Linked DNA regions of Homo sapiens: all the other regions are linked to region 1. Evidence: promoter capture Hi-C in human tissues and cell types (Jung and others, 2019). All regions are on one chromosome and are shown on one strand. The core of a region is centred on a gene start or on the middle of the fragment in contact, and the rest is flanking DNA. Distances in the headings are between cores, read along the strand shown.

Region 1 (5,082 bases), core at 2,530-5,029:
CTGGTAGACTTGCCCAGGCCCACCACCTCTGCCTAGGCTCTCAAAGCTGCCACCCAAGTGGCTTCCTGCAATTCTTCCCCTACTCTAGCCAGCTTAAGTCGGTTACCTCCATCACCTGCCCTAAAACAAACACCTGAGTCACCCCCTCACGGTCTCCACAGCTCTGCACTGTCATTGACCTGGCCAAGGGGAGCCACTGTCTCTCCCTAGAGCACGTCTGTCCACACCCTCCTCTTGCCTGGTGTGCCAGTGCCCTTCCCTACACTCCCACCCTGAATTCTGACCACTCTTCAGGGTCCACTCCATTAACCCCAACCCAACTCCTCTCACCCTGTGTCCATCACTGACCTGGCAGGGCGCCCACTTAGGCTGTGTACACACGTTATCTCATCCTCACCACAGTCCTGGGAGGGAGGTAACCCTACTCCCCAGGCCTCTGATAAGGAAACGAGGCTCACAGGGCTTAGATATCTGTCTACAACGACACAACCAGAGGGCAGGTGAGGGAGGCCCCTGGGGTCGGCCACTCAGGCGCACTGGCCCCAGCTGCCTCCAGGGCTCCAATGCACCCTACCTCTCTTCTGCCTGTGGCCAGCTCTTTGGCTGCTTGTCTCAGGCCCTGTTGCTCCCTAAGCCCCACAGTCCCCACAGCACTGGCACACAGGGCAACCGGGAGAACACCTGTCAGATTAAACATGTCAGGACTACTAAACTTAAGGAAAAAATATGCTTCTGCCATATTGCCAACTCTCCATTTATAAACTGGTACTAGTACTTTCTAAGGGTAGACTGACCTTAACCTCTCCCAACACCCTTCACTCAGTAAAACAGGGATAATGGCCAGGCTTACATGTAATGTTCCTTCTGGGCGTGAAATGAGACTGCATGTAAAATGACATTCTTTTTTTTGAGACGGAGTCTCACTCTGTCGCCCCAGCTGGAGTGCAGTGGCGTGATCTCGGCTCACCTCAACCTCCGCCTCCCGGGTTCAAGCAATTCTCCTGCCTCAGGCTCCTGAGTAGCTGGGATTACAGGCATGCACCACCACGCCCAGCTAATTTTGTATTTTTAGTAGAGATGGGGTTTATCTATGTTGGTCAGGCTGATCTTGAACTCCTGACCTCAGGTAATCCACCCACCTCGGCCTCCCAAAGTGTTGGGATTACAGGTGTGAGCCACCATGCCTGGCTGTAAAATCACATTCTTGAGAGCCAGGCTCAGGTTATGTATCCAATAAACAGAGACCATAGCTACTAGCTAAGGAGAATTTAAAAACAAGAACTGAATTAGAAGAGAGGCCAGGTGCAGTGGCTCACGCCTGTAATCCCAGCACTTTGGGAGGCTGAGGCAGGAGGATCACTTGAGCCCAGGAGGTCAAGACCAATCTGGGCAACATAGTGGAACTCCATTTCTACCAAAAAATAAAAATAAAAATAAATTAGCTGAGCATGGTGGTGCATACCTGTAGTCCCAGCTACTAGGGAGGCTGAGGCAGGAGAATCACTTGAGCCTCAGAGGTCAAGGCTGCGGTGAGCCATACAGTGAGCCACTGCACTCCAGCCTGGGTGACAGTGAGACCCTGTCTCAAAAGGGGAAAAAAAAAATTAAAAGAAGAAATCCAGTATTACACCACGTTTTCTTTGTTCCCAATGCAGTGTGTTTTGGTGTAGTGTGTTCTGAGAAGACAGGCCTTGTGCCACTGATGGACTGTCTCACACATGTCTTTATTAGCCCCTTCAAGTTTATTTCAGTCTCGGAGACGGAGTCTTACTCTGTTGCCCAGGCTGGAGTGCAGTGGCGCGATCTTGCCTCACTGCAAGTTCCGCCTCCCAGGTTCACGCCTTTCTCCTGGCTCAGCCTCCCGAGTAGCTGGGACTACAGGCGCCCCCCACCACGCCCGGCTAATTTTTTGCATTTTTAGTAGAGATGAGGTTTCACTGTGTTAGCCAGGATAGTCTCAATCTCCTGATCTCATGATCCGCCTGCCTCGGCCTCCCAAAGTTCTGGGATTACAGGCATGAGCCACCACGCCTGGCCTATTTCAGTCTTTTTTTTGGGACAGAGTCTCACTCTGTTGCCCAGGCTGAAGTACAGTGGTACAATCTCAGCTCACTGCAACCTCTGTCTTCCAGGGTCAAGCAATTCTCCTGCCTCAGCCTCCTGAGTAGCTGGGATTACAGGCGTACACCACCATACCTGGATAATTTTTGTATTTTTAGCAGAGATAAGGTTTCACCATGTTGGCCAGGCTGGTCTCAAACTCCTGACCTCAAGTGATCCGTCCACCTCGGCCTCCCAAAGTGCTGGGATTCCAGGCGTGAGCCACCATGCCCGCGTACTTCAGTCTTCTTTAAAGCAGTGATGTGCACGGTGCTGTGAGCCCCCAAAGAGAAAAACAGCAGCAGTAGTTTACTCTGGGCTGATACAAAACTGAAAAATCTACTTGCCTCTCCATTTTCCTGGGCTGGACTCGGTGCATCGGCTGACACATTCTCTTGGTCATCAGTTTTTGTTTTCTTACTACATTCCTTAAAAAAGCAAAGGAACATTATCAATGAACTTTTACTTCGTCTCCCTTAAGAAAATGTGCACATTCTGACCAATGAAGCTCATGTATTTCTATCCTTTCTTTTAGTTTATTTATTTATTTTTTTAGACGGAGTCTCGCTCTCACCCAGGCTGGAGTGCAGGGGCGCAATCTCGGCTCACTGCAGCCTCCACCTCCCGGGTTCAAGCGATTCTCCTGCCTCGGCCTTCTGAGTAGCTGGGATTACAGGTGTGCGCCACCACACCCAGCTAATTTTATATTTTTAGTAGAGACTGGGTTTCGCCATGTTGGCCACGATGGTCTTGAACTGCTGACCTCAGGTGATCCACCCGCCTCGGCCTCCCCTCCCAAGGTGCTGGGATAACAGGCTTGAGCCACCGTGCCTGGCCTTCTATCCTTCTAACCCTTCTAGTGAAACAGGTACTGAAGGACACACACACATCTCTATTGTTTACAATAATAAAAAAGCAGAAGCAACTGTAGCCTTCACCCCACAGGCGAATTCCCCTGGACACAGGTGTACTTAGAATAGGACGCAGCCACCACCGGGGATGAACGACCCATGGAATGTTAGGAAGCCTCCTGCCACGGCGTCACGCGCAGAAGTGCCAGCCACAGAGCAGCATCCACAGGAGCCCATTCCGGCAATAACAGCTACAAAACCCCCCTGCGTGCGCTGCGCGGTTGTTGCCATGGCCTGGAGACAACCGCGGAAGGCGCCGGTCAGCAGCCGTCACCCGCTTCCGCCCCTGCACCGGCTGCTCGGTGACCCTCAGAGGGGCAGGTTCGAAAACGCCTAAAACCCTCTCGAAACGCTTCTGATCATTCCCGCCACGACCGCTGTTTACTCGGACTGTGGTGCGCGGCACGAGAGGCTCGGTCTCCGTGCGTTTCCGCGCTTCGCGGGCGTGGGAAAGATGGACAAGTTCAGGGAGAACCGCGAAGACCGAACCCGCCCTGCAGAGCGCAGCGGACCCCGCGCCGGCCGCCTCCACGCCGAGCGGGCCCAGGGTGCCGAGGCCGGGGGCGCCTTGAAGAGCCCTGAAGCGAGCGAGCGGCGGGCCCGGACCGCCAACCTCGGCCGCCCAGAGCCCCACAGGACAAGCACCAGGCGCGCGCCTCCCCGGCCCGCGGCGCTCACCTTGCGCGTGCAGTGCTCACACTTCATCTGGAGCGCGGCGGGCGGGAGGCCGGGCGCCTCAGCCTCAGGGAAGCACCGGGAGACTGGGACACCACTGCCCGCCGCCCGCGGCCCTTTGTTGTCCTCCCCCGACGCGGCCTCACCCCCAACGGCCGCGCTCGGCCAATGAGAGCACCGGGAGAGGACAAGCCGCACCCCTGGGCCAATAGGATTCCCCACCCTTACGGCTTTGCCTAGGCCAATGACAGTGTCGGGAAGGGGCGGGCCAGGCCCCAGAGCCAATCGGAGCGCGCGGGGCGGACCGCAGGCTCACTCCACGTACGGCGCCGGGGGGACCGGGTCCTTGCGCCGGTTTCCGCTTCTCGTGGGTCCTGCGGCGGCGGCGGCGGCCAAGCGGCGTTCACCAGGGAGTCGGTGAGCGCGCGGACTGTCCCGAGGCCAAGCTGGGGCCGTTCCAGGGTGCTCGGTCCGGTGGTCACGGGGCCTGGAGGCCCCTGGGCCCGCGGAGGCCGCGGCCGGGCTCTGTCAGCCAGCTCGGCGTTGGACACTCGCCTTACTCGCGGCTCCTAACGGGGCGGGCCGGGGGCACAGCCCTCGTCCGCCGCCATTGCCACTTGACGTCGTGTCACGTAGGCTCGGCGGAGTAGCAGCGCGCATGCGCGGCCTGCCTGTCAGTAACCACGTGATGGACCCGGAAGCCCGAGGGCAGATGCTAAATGATGGCCATTTGACATTTGCGTGTGTTCACTATGGATAGTTTTACCAAGTACATTGATTTGGGCCCTTACAGCTTACAAAGTAAAGATAACACTTACTCCTCCAAGAAATTGATTTCAGCTAAGCAAAACATTGATACAGGGCTATAATGGAAGTGTTGGACTCATAAACGTTTTATGAAATCAGTGTGTGTGTATTACAGAAATCAGAAATGAGAAGTAAGAACATGTCTGGGAGAGTGTGACATAAGAAAAATAACTTGTAGGCGTATTTAACAGACAGCAGCAGTTCTCAGGATTCCCCATGTTAGAGCCTTCCTTCCTGTCCTCTGAGAAATGAAAATGAAATCCAAAGACCCCCAACTGACTACACGAACCCCCTACTGGCTAAGGAGATCCCAGGGTTGCCTTGAAGGCAGTTCTCAGCCATGACAGATGGGAGGTGAGACACCTGTTATTAAGGCCAACCCTTGGCTAACTACCATTAGGTTTTCTTGGCTAAGAGCTTAACGGAAACCAGCGCTTTCGAAAGACTCCACCGCTGATAACAACTCTCTCATTTGCAGTTTCGGCCCAATTGACCAGTATTCCTTACTGATAAGAGACACTGACCATGGAGTGGTTCTGGTGAGATGACATGACCCTCGTGAAGGGGCCTGAAGCTTCATTGTGTTTGT
Region 2 (4,922 bases), core at 1,588-4,087, 140 kb after region 1:
ATGCTGTTCCCCGGGGCCCCAGTTGGTTTCACCCACGGCCCGTTCCTGGGTTGGCCTTTGAGGGCCACACCCACACCCTGTGTCCTGCTGGCTGTCCACCTGGCCTCCCTGAGGTCAGCTCCAGGCGGGAGGGCTCCTGGTCCACACTGCCCCCTGCTCCTGGCACAGACGCTGGCATAAAGACGCCCGGTGAACGTTGGTGACCCAATGCATGCATGGAGCAAAGGCCAGAGGAGGGGCTGCTCCGGCAAGTGCTGTTACCCACCGCCTCGAGCCACAGCCTTGCTAGGGTGCTCCAGGGTCTCTGCGCAAGATTCTGCCCCCAAACCCTCTGTCTCTCGTTTATGGAGAGCCTGGGGGAGGAAAACCGGCTCCCCCAGGACCCTCGGCCCAGCAGAAAACCTGCACCACCCCACAGCCCCACCCGTGTCTCCGCACCGGCTGCTGTGGCTGGGACTTCTGGGGAAGGAGCTCAGGGCTGCAGGTCCGTGTGTGAGTCACGGGCACACATCTCTGCACACACGCGTGAGTCACGTGCACCCTTCTCTGCACACACACGTGTCCACATGCACCCGTTTCTGCACACACGCATGGAGTCGCGCACCCGTCTCTGCACACACGCATGGAGTGACGCGCACCCGTCTCTGCACACACGTGTGTCCACACGCACCCCTCTGCACACATGCGTGGAGTCACGCGCACCCGTCTCCTCACACACGCGTGTCCACACACACCTGTCTGCACACGAGTGTCCACACATTCCCGTCTCTGCACACGCATGTCCACGCGCTCCCGTCTCTGCACACACACGTGTCCACACGCACCCCTCTCTGCACACACACATGTCCACACGCTCCTATCTCTGTACACACGCGTGGTCATGCACACCCGTCTCTGCATACATGTGTGGAGTCACGCGCACCCGTCTCTGCACACACGCGAGTCACGCACACCCGTCTCTGCACACACACGTGTTCACATGCACCCGTCTCTGCAAACACGTGTGGAGTCACGCACACCCGTCTCTGCACATGCGTGGAGCCATGCGCACCCGTCTCTGCACACACGCGTGTCCACACGCACCCGTCTCTGCACACACATGCGTGGAATCACGCGCACCCGTCTCTGCACACACGCGTGGAGTCATGCGCACCCATCTCTGCACACACACGTGTCCACACGCACCCGTCTCTGCACATGCGTGTCCACACACATCCATCTCTGCACACACGCGTGTCCACATGCACCCGTCTCTGCACACATGCATGGAGTCACGCGCACCCGTCTCTGCACACACAAGTGTCCACACACCCGTCTCTGCACACGCACGTCCACACGCACACGTCTCTACACACGCACGTGTCCACACGCACCCGTCTCTGCACACCCGCGTGTCCACACGCACCCGTCTCTGCACACACGCATGGAGTCACGCGCACCCGTCTCTGCACAAAGTGTCCACACACACCCGTCTCTGCACATGCGTGTCCACACACACCCGTCTCTGCACACACGCGTGTCCACACACATCCGTCTCTGCACACACGCGTGGAGTCATGCGCACCCATCTGCACACACACGTGTTCACACGCACCCGTCTCTGCACATGCGTGTCCACACACACCCGTCTCTGCACACACGCGTGTCCACACGCACCCGTCTCTGCACACACGCATGGAGTCAAGTGCACCCGTCTCTGCACACACGTGTCCACACACACCCGTCTCTGCACACGCACATCCACACGCACACGTCTCTGCACACGCACGTGTCCACACGCACCCATCTCTGCACATGCGTGTCCACACACACCCGTCTCTGCACACACGTGTCCACACGCACCCGTCTCTGCACACACGCATGGAGTCACACGCACCCGTCTCTGCACACACAAGTGTCCACACACAGCCGTCTCTGTACACGCACGTCCACACGCACACGTCTCTGCACACACACGTCCACACGCACCCGCCTCTGCACACGCACGTGTCCACACGCATCCGTCTCTGCACACACACGTGTCCACACGCACCCGTCTCTGCACACACACGTGTCCACACGCACCCGTCTCTGCACACACATGTCCATACGCACCCGTCTCTGCACACACACGTGTCCACACACTCCTGCTCATGTGCTGCACCTACTGGCTTTGGGCACCAACGTCAACGCTTCGTCATTGTGGCGGGAGGCCCTCAGGACAGAGAAGTGCCCCCTCCCAGAGGACTCAGTCACCCTGGGGTCAGAGCCCAGGCACAGGTCTCCCTCAGCCCCTGAAGCTGGGCACTGCGGCCTGACGCACTCCTCCCAGGGAGGTCGGGAAACCTCAGGCCTGGACCATACCTCAGACCTCCCGCCTCCAGGACATGGAACGCAGAGCCACGGTCAGCTGGTCGGCTGCAGCGTTGGGTGCGGGTGCAGGCCCAGGCTCCTTCCCCACGGCCAAACCAGGGGGTGCCAATTCTGGCCTGCCCTGTGCTCCTCTGCACTGTGTGGGTGACTCATGGGTCATGGGTGGCTCCAGATTTCTGGGCATAAATTGGGTCCCAGCAGAAAGTACCCCAGAGGACCAGGCAGGCTGGGGGCCAGCTCTGCCGCTCACTTCCAGACCCTGCCACCCGTCCCCAGCCAGGGAGTCCCTTCTCTGTCCTCTGGTCTGCCCCGCCCCAGGCCTTGACCTCCTCCCTGTGGAGATGCAGGGGCAGTGGGGGATACAGGGACGCCCTGCTCTCAGGGCAGCTCTCAGGGAGGCAGTGCTGGGGAGGGGTAGGTGAGACCGCCCCTCCCACCGGGCCCACAGCACCACCCTGGTCTGAGGCACCGCCTCCAGGAAGCCCTCTCTGAGCTCTGAGCGCCTGCGGTCTCCTGTGTGCTGCTCTCTGTGGGGTCCTGTAGACCCAGAGAGGCTCAGCTGCACTCGCCCGGCTGGGAGAGCTGGGTGTGGGGAACATGGCCGGGCCTCCGAGGCTCCTGCTGCTGCCCCTGCTTCTGGCGCTGGCTCGCGGCCTGCCTGGGGCCCTGGCTGCCCAAGGTAAGAGCTTCCCAGGCTCTCCATGGCCACAGCTCCAGAGCTCTCCCTGCCCCATGAGCTCAGAGCCCCCAGTCTGAGCCACAGCACAGCCCCCAGGAAGCGGGTGGGGTGCTGAGCGGCCTCCAGTGTCTGAGGACTCATTTAAGAGAAGGAAAAAGGGTGGACCCCGGTGGGGAGTGGCCGGGGCTGTCCAGGCAGGGCCGCTGCTTTGGGAGGAAGAAGCCCACAGTCTCGGAACACGAGGACAGCACCTCCCCCAACACCACAGCCGGTGCCCAGATCTGCTCCATGCCCCGTAAGGCACCGTGTCTTTGGCGACATGTCAGCCCTGGGCTGTCTCAGGGCCCCACCATCCCCACCACTGTCCCCTGCAGGGAGGACATTCTCTGTCCTTCTGGCCAGACTGATGGTGACAGCCCAGGTCCTCCCCAGAGGTGCAGCAGTCTCCCCACTGCACGACTGTCCCCGTGGGAGCCTCCGTCAACATCACCTGCTCCACCAGCGGGGGCCTGCGTGGGATCTACCTGAGGCAGCTCGGGCCACAGCCCCAAGACATCATTTACTACGAGGACGGGGTGGTGCCCACTACGGACAGACGGTTCCGGGGCCGCATCGACTTCTCAGGGTCCCAGGACAACCTGACTATCACCATGCACCGCCTGCAGCTGTCGGACACTGGCACCTACACCTGCCAGGCCATCACGGAGGTCAATGTCTACGGCTCCGGCACCCTGGTCCTGGTGACAGGTAGGGAATGTGCCCATCCCAGACCCCCCTCCCAACCCCAGCTGCTGGCCAGGCTCTGCTCCCCCAGCCCTTGTCGTGGGACCCTCCCTCCTACATGTGCCTGAACTGTTCCAGCTCCCAGCCCACTGCCCCCAGCAGCCTCCTAGATAGCTGCCCCTCCTCCCCTCCACAGCCTTTCCCTGCCCCGAATCCCAAACCCCGGGGGCTCTAACAGGTTCTCCACCGGGAGAATCCCTTCCTTCTTTTTTCCTTCTCAGAGGAACAGTCCCAAGGATGGCACAGATGCTCGGACGCCCCACCAAGGGCCTCTGCCCTCCCTGCCCCACCGACAGGCTCCGCCCTCCCTGACCCGCAGACAGCCTCTGCCCTCCCTGACCCGCCAGCAGCCTCTGCCCTCCCTGCGGCCCTGGCGGTGATCTCCTTCCTCCTCGGGCTGGGCCTGGGGGTGGCGTGTGTGCTGGCGAGGACACAGGTCAGTGTGAGCCCCAGCTGCCACCTGCACCCCAAAGATTGTTCCCTCTCCTGAGAGCAGCGTGGGGGGCGCCAAAGCCCCAGAGGAAAACCCTGGTACCCGCCGCCTCCTCTGCAGGCTCTGGAACTCTCAGGGTGGAAGTGGCCTCGGCGGGGAGGGAGGGGGACCAGCACCAAAGCGACCTGAGGGGGAGGGAGCAGCCCAGGCGCTGGGCCCGCGTGTGCGCGTGTGCGCGTGTGCAGGTGTGAGTGTCTGAGGGGGGATCTCTGAGGTCTGTGCGTGCAGGTTGGAGTGTGCGGGCAGAGGAGGGAGCGCCCAGGCGCTGGGCCCGCGTGTGCACGTGTGCAGGTGTGAGCCTGTGTGTGGGGATCTCTGAGGACTGTGCGTGCATGTTGGAGTGTGCCGGCGTGCTGTGTGGCCGTGGGAAGGGGAGGGGGCCTCAGACAGACACAGAGTCTAGGCGTGGCCACTCCCCTCGGTCCCTGCTGTTTGTCTGGGGCTGGAGTGGGGGTCCCGCTTGGCTTGGGCTTGGTGGGGGGGTCCAAGCCACTTCCACTCTCCTTCTTCAGAGGCACCCCAGGGTCCGACCCAGCCCTGCCTGGGGAAGGCTCTGCTGGGAAGCCCTGGGGCTCAGGAGACCTGGGGGCCAGCCCAGAGGAGCCCCGTGGGGGT
Region 3 (4,679 bases), core at 917-3,416, 240 kb before region 1:
CTCAGCCAAGGCCAGCTTGGAGGTGACAACTAGGAGGTGGTGAGGACCTTCTGTGGGGCAGGAGAAGAGCAGACAAGGGCTCCCCCATCACCTGTCCTCTGTAGGAAGTGGTCTGGCCACCCCTCTCCATGCCCCACCGTGAACACTGCTGGACTGCTGGGTGTGACCCCGAGGGTGGGCTGGGGGCCTCCTGACCCCTATTGTACAGTGAGTCTGGATGTGTAGGTGGGGAGCGAGCAAAAGAAGGTACCCTTTCCTCACTAGGTAATAGCCATGTGACCCACAGCTGATTGGAACATGGAGACTGAGGGTTAGGGATGGGAAGGAAACTCCCCTGAATTCTTTTTGGCAGAGTGGTGGGGCTGGGGACTAAATGCCATCTTTCTCATAGTTTTCTAGCGTCCACCTTCCATCCTCTTTTCTTCCTCTGACCTTCCTTCTAAAAAAAAACAGTGCTGCAATCCCAGCATTTTGGGAGGCCGAGGTCGATCACTTGAGGTCAGGAGTCAAAGACCAGCCTGGCCAACATGGCAAAATCCCATCTCTACTAAAAATGCAAAAATTAGCTGGGTGTGGTGGCACATGCCTGTAATCCTAGCTACTTGGGAGGCTTGAATCCAGGAGGTGGAAGTTGCAGTGAGCCAAGATTACATCACTGCACTCCAGCCTGGGCAACAGAGCAAGACTCTGTCTCAAAAAAAAAAAAATGTGGCTGCATTAGTAACTAAAGCAACTAATCAACCAATGAATAACAGGTGTTGCAAACTAAATTGGCATTCCAAAGTAAACATTTTCTAGGTCCAAATGAATGCAAATGACAAATATAATAATCTTGACTTCAGTCTCTTTTGTAATTCTTCTTCCGCTCCCTCTTCTGTTCCTCCCCCACAAAAAACTTCTAATGGGGTCTAGAGCAGTTCCCTACACAACGCAGGGTGGAGGGGATGAAGTAGTGGGGGCATTATCCTTCTTCTTGGACGGAGCTCGCCCTTTGCCTGCTGCCTGAATTCTGCACCAAATAAACCAATGTGCACCTGGTGAGACCCTCAGAGCGAAGGGCAGACCTCGGCCTGGCAACCCTTGCTCTCTAGAGCAGAGGAGAAGCCAAAAGGCTGGAGGGTCCCACCCAATGCTCTCCTCCAGCACGCACGCAAACACATGCATGGATGCACAAACAAGCGCACGCACACATAGGAGCGCATGCATAGAAGCAGCACACGCAGACACACACATGCAAAGATGCCTGCAAAGGCACACATGCACACGCACATACATGTGCAGACACCTGCAGAGGCACACATGCACACGCAGACACACAGATGTGCAGACATCTGCAGAGGGACACATGCACACGCACATACATGTGCAGACACCTGCAGAGGGACACATGCACACGCAGACACATAGATGTGCAGACACCTGCAGAGGGACACATGCACACGCAGACACATACATGTGCAGATATCTGCAGAGGCACACATGCACACGCAGACATGCACACACACGAACACATGCACACGTACACAGGCGCATGTGCACACACAGGCATTCAGGCACGCCGCGTAAATGGGGCAACGACGAGGCCCTGGATGAACCGTGGGGAGAGACCGCGAGCCTGGATTCTACGGCGACAGGGACTCCTCCGGCGAGGCGGCCTGCGGGGGCCTTCCGGCCGCGTCCGCCAACTGGACCGACCCCGAGCCCCACCCGGCCAGGCACCCGAGGTCTCCCTGGTGGGCAGGTGGGGAGGCCCCACGCTGGGACCCTGCACCGCCCCTCGCCCCTCCCGACTCGGGGCGTGCAGACCCGACGACCGTGGGAGCGAGTTCGTGGCGCTCACGGGCGCACGCGAGAGTGTAAACACCCGGCCCCACCCCCTGATCGCCCCCACCCCGCCCCGCCATTGGCTGCGGGAGCAGAGTCCCCGCCTCCTGCTTGTTCTGGCTCCGCCCCTGCCCCGTCTCCGGGCCTCCATTGGCTGTGGTGACAGCGACCTTTCAGGAGGGGCGGGTGGGCGACAGCCCGGAGGCGGTGACGAGAGTAAGATGGACGGACAACCAAGCCAGTGAAAGCGCGCAGCTGCCCTAGCAACTGCGGTCCACCAATGGCGGGGCCGGGCGGGGATGCGCGCTGTCAGCGCTGGGCGGCGGGGCGGGGCCGGAGGCGAGCAAGGACTCGGGGCCCGCGCGGCGCCTCTCGGGGCCGGGCCGCCGCCTCTGCGCTCAGCCCCGCAGGCCGGGCATGGGTGGGGGCGCCGGGCCGTCACGATGAGCGCCCTGGGCAGCCCGGTCCGGGCCTACGACTTTCTGCTCAAGTTCCTGCTGGTGGGCGACAGCGACGTGGGCAAGGGCGAGATCCTGGCGAGCCTGCAGGATGGCGCGGCCGAGTCCCCGTACGGCCACCCGGCGGGTGAGCGCGGGCGGAGGGCGTGCCGGGGTGCGGGCGCGGGGCCGGGGAGGGGCGCGGGGCTGGGGAGGGGGTGCGGGTGGGGGTCCGGGTCCGGGGACGCGAGACCGGGCAGGGGTCGGGAAGAGGCCGGGGCGCGTGGCCGGGGAGGGTAGGAGTCCCGGTCCGGGGGCGCGGGGCTGAGGAGGAGCGCGGTTCGCGGGCGGGCCTTTCTCCGCCCGGCCCTGGCCCTCGTGCTGCGGCGTCCCTGTTGCACCCCCAGTTCCACTCGAGGCCCCGCGGCGCAGTCTCCATCCTTCTCCGCAGTCTGCGCGCAGCGGGAGCCCGCGGCTGGGCCGGGCGCTGGGCTCCTCCCGACCTGGGGCCGCTGCTGTGGGGACCCGGGGCGGGGGCTCGAGTCCGCAAGTGCGCGTTCGGCCGCGGGGCAGGAGGGGCGGGAGGGGACGCGAGCTCCGGGGCTCCTGGGGCGGAGCGCGGCGAGCAGGCGCCCAGGTGCTGGGTCTGCGCGTGGGTCGGAGGGGAGGGGAGACCAGGGTCCGGTCCCGAGGCCAGGGGTCCCGCGTGTCCGGGGGAGAGGAAGGAGCACAGGTGACTCGCGTGCGGAAGAGGGGACCCCCCACGACAGCGGCCGGAGAGCGGGTTCCAGGGCGAGGGGAGGCCGGAGCGCCCAGAGCTCCCAGGCAGGCAGCCCGGGGATCCCCCAAGTTTGAGGCTTGAAAGCCGGCGCCCGGCGAGGGGGTGGACGGCTCCGGGGAAAGAAAGGCGGGGGCAGGAACCCAGGAGAAGGGGGAACGCGCAGAGGCGAACACCTCGGCTGGGAGTGAGGAGCAGGCGGGGCCTTCACCCACGCGCATCCCTGGAACAGCTTGGACGAGGCCGACCCTGAGGCTGTGGAAGGAGCCCAGCCTGTGCCCACCTTCCTGCCGCGCCTCGGGGCTGAACCCACGCTTCCAACAGAGACCCGCTCTGAGTCCTGGGCGGAGGAGGGCAGCCGGGCGTGGAGATGGAGTCTTGGTGGGAAGGACCTGTCAGCTCTGGGGCCTGGGAAGGGTCTGGGAAGCCCCAGGTCCAGGGTCCTGCCAGAGACGAACTTAGCGGGAGAGGGTGGGAGGAAGCGGGATCTGAGGCTGCTCGGTAGAGGGTGCAGGCTGTCCCCTAAGGGCAGCTCCAGGCAGGCGGCGTGAGCACCAAGGGAGTGTGGCACGGCTGGAGGGGGTGGCCTGAGACTGTGGAGCGTGGGGTGGGACTCAGGTGCCCGGCCACACCTCAGCTTAGGGGACGGGGTGAGGAATGGGCAGAGTTTGGGGGAGCAGCTGAGATGGGCTTGGGCTCACGACCAGCACCCAGAGGCCTCCTGAAACTGCAGCATGCGGGGGAGTCTCTGGCAGCTGGTGGGTGCAGAGTGTGCTCCGTGGGGCAGGAGGGGAGCCTGCGTCTCTACCTGTCCCCAGGCGCCGCTGCCCCCGCATGTCCTACCCCCCTCCCCGCTCGGTGGCAGGTCTCTAGGACCGTGGTGTCCAGTAGGATGCCATGAGCCACGTGTGGCTGTGGAAGTGTAATTAGAAGGAAAGAAAACAAAAAGCTTCCATTCGTCACATTTCTAGATAGTTCGGATGTCGCTGTGGCAAAGTCCGAGGGCCAGCGCTGCCCTGGAGATTGAGCGCCTGGAGGACAGGGCTGGAGATTGAGCGCCTGGAGGACAGGGCTGGAGATTGAGCGCCTGGAGGACAGGGCTGGAGATTGAGCGCCTGGAGGACAGGGCTGGAGATTGAGCGCCTGGAGGACAGGGCTGGAGATTGAGCGCCTGGAGGACAGGGCTGGAGATTGAGCGCCTGGAGGACAGGGCTGGAGATTGAGCGCCTGGAGGACAGGGCTGGAGATTGAGCGCCTGGAGGACAGGGCTTTGTCTGCACTGTGCCCTCGGGGTCTGGGCTCAGTGAGGGATGAACCCTACCAGAGCTACAGGAATAAAGCACCCAACAACGTGTACGCCCAGACGAATATGGCGCTTTAAGAGCTGTGCGTGTTTTGGGGGAGCAGACGGTTGACAGTGTTGAGTTTGATTGAAGGTGAGTGCCGTGGGGCGTGTGTGAGAAGGGTCACGCACAGAATGTTTGTGAAACTTCCTTCTGGTTGGTTTGAATGGAGGCTCGGGGATGCTTCTGCTGCGTGACTTTTGGTTGCTACATGCCGAACTGAGGACGAACCAAAACAATGGTCCAATGCTTTGTAATAAAGGCTTTCCCTTGACACGGAGGGAGGATTTAGGCTAA

Evidence for each region. The method cuts DNA at HindIII sites, captures the fragments that hold promoters and counts their contacts. A contact is called where the count stands out against the background at its distance.
Region 2: the fragment with the promoter of CD7 here is called in contact with the fragment with the promoter of NARF in region 1 in 1 of the 25 tissues and cell types used here (neural progenitor cells).
Region 3: the fragment with the promoter of RAB40B here is called in contact with the fragment with the promoter of NARF in region 1 in 1 of the 25 tissues and cell types used here (dorsolateral prefrontal cortex).

What each region holds. Positions count from the first base shown.
Region 1 is chr17:82,457,438-82,462,519 of GRCh38, reverse strand. NARF (nuclear prelamin A recognition factor) reads right to left here and starts at 3,779. Exons shown (of 11, transcript NM_012336.4): 1 at 3,690-3,779; 2 at 2,448-2,528. The coding sequence starts at 3,716. It overlaps NARF-AS2 (NARF antisense RNA 2), which reads left to right and starts at 4,001. Exons shown (of 3, transcript NR_184099.1): 1 at 4,001-4,847; 2 at 4,972-5,082. RefSeq lists enhancers at 3,025-3,857, 4,291-4,440 and a silencer at 3,441-4,260. The HindIII fragment of the contact is 15,922 bases long and covers 1-5,082 here.
Region 2 is chr17:82,315,523-82,320,444 of GRCh38, reverse strand. CD7 (CD7 molecule) reads left to right here and starts at 2,837. Exons shown (of 4, transcript NM_006137.7): 1 at 2,837-3,031; 2 at 3,464-3,778; 3 at 4,036-4,250. The coding sequence starts at 2,950. The HindIII fragment of the contact is 15,699 bases long and covers 1,348-4,922 here.
Region 3 is chr17:82,696,185-82,700,863 of GRCh38, reverse strand. RAB40B (RAB40B, member RAS oncogene family) reads left to right here and starts at 2,166. Exons shown (of 6, transcript NM_006822.3): 1 at 2,166-2,409. The coding sequence starts at 2,268. RefSeq lists silencers at 1,598-1,987, 2,008-2,437. The HindIII fragment of the contact is 28,650 bases long and covers 1-4,679 here.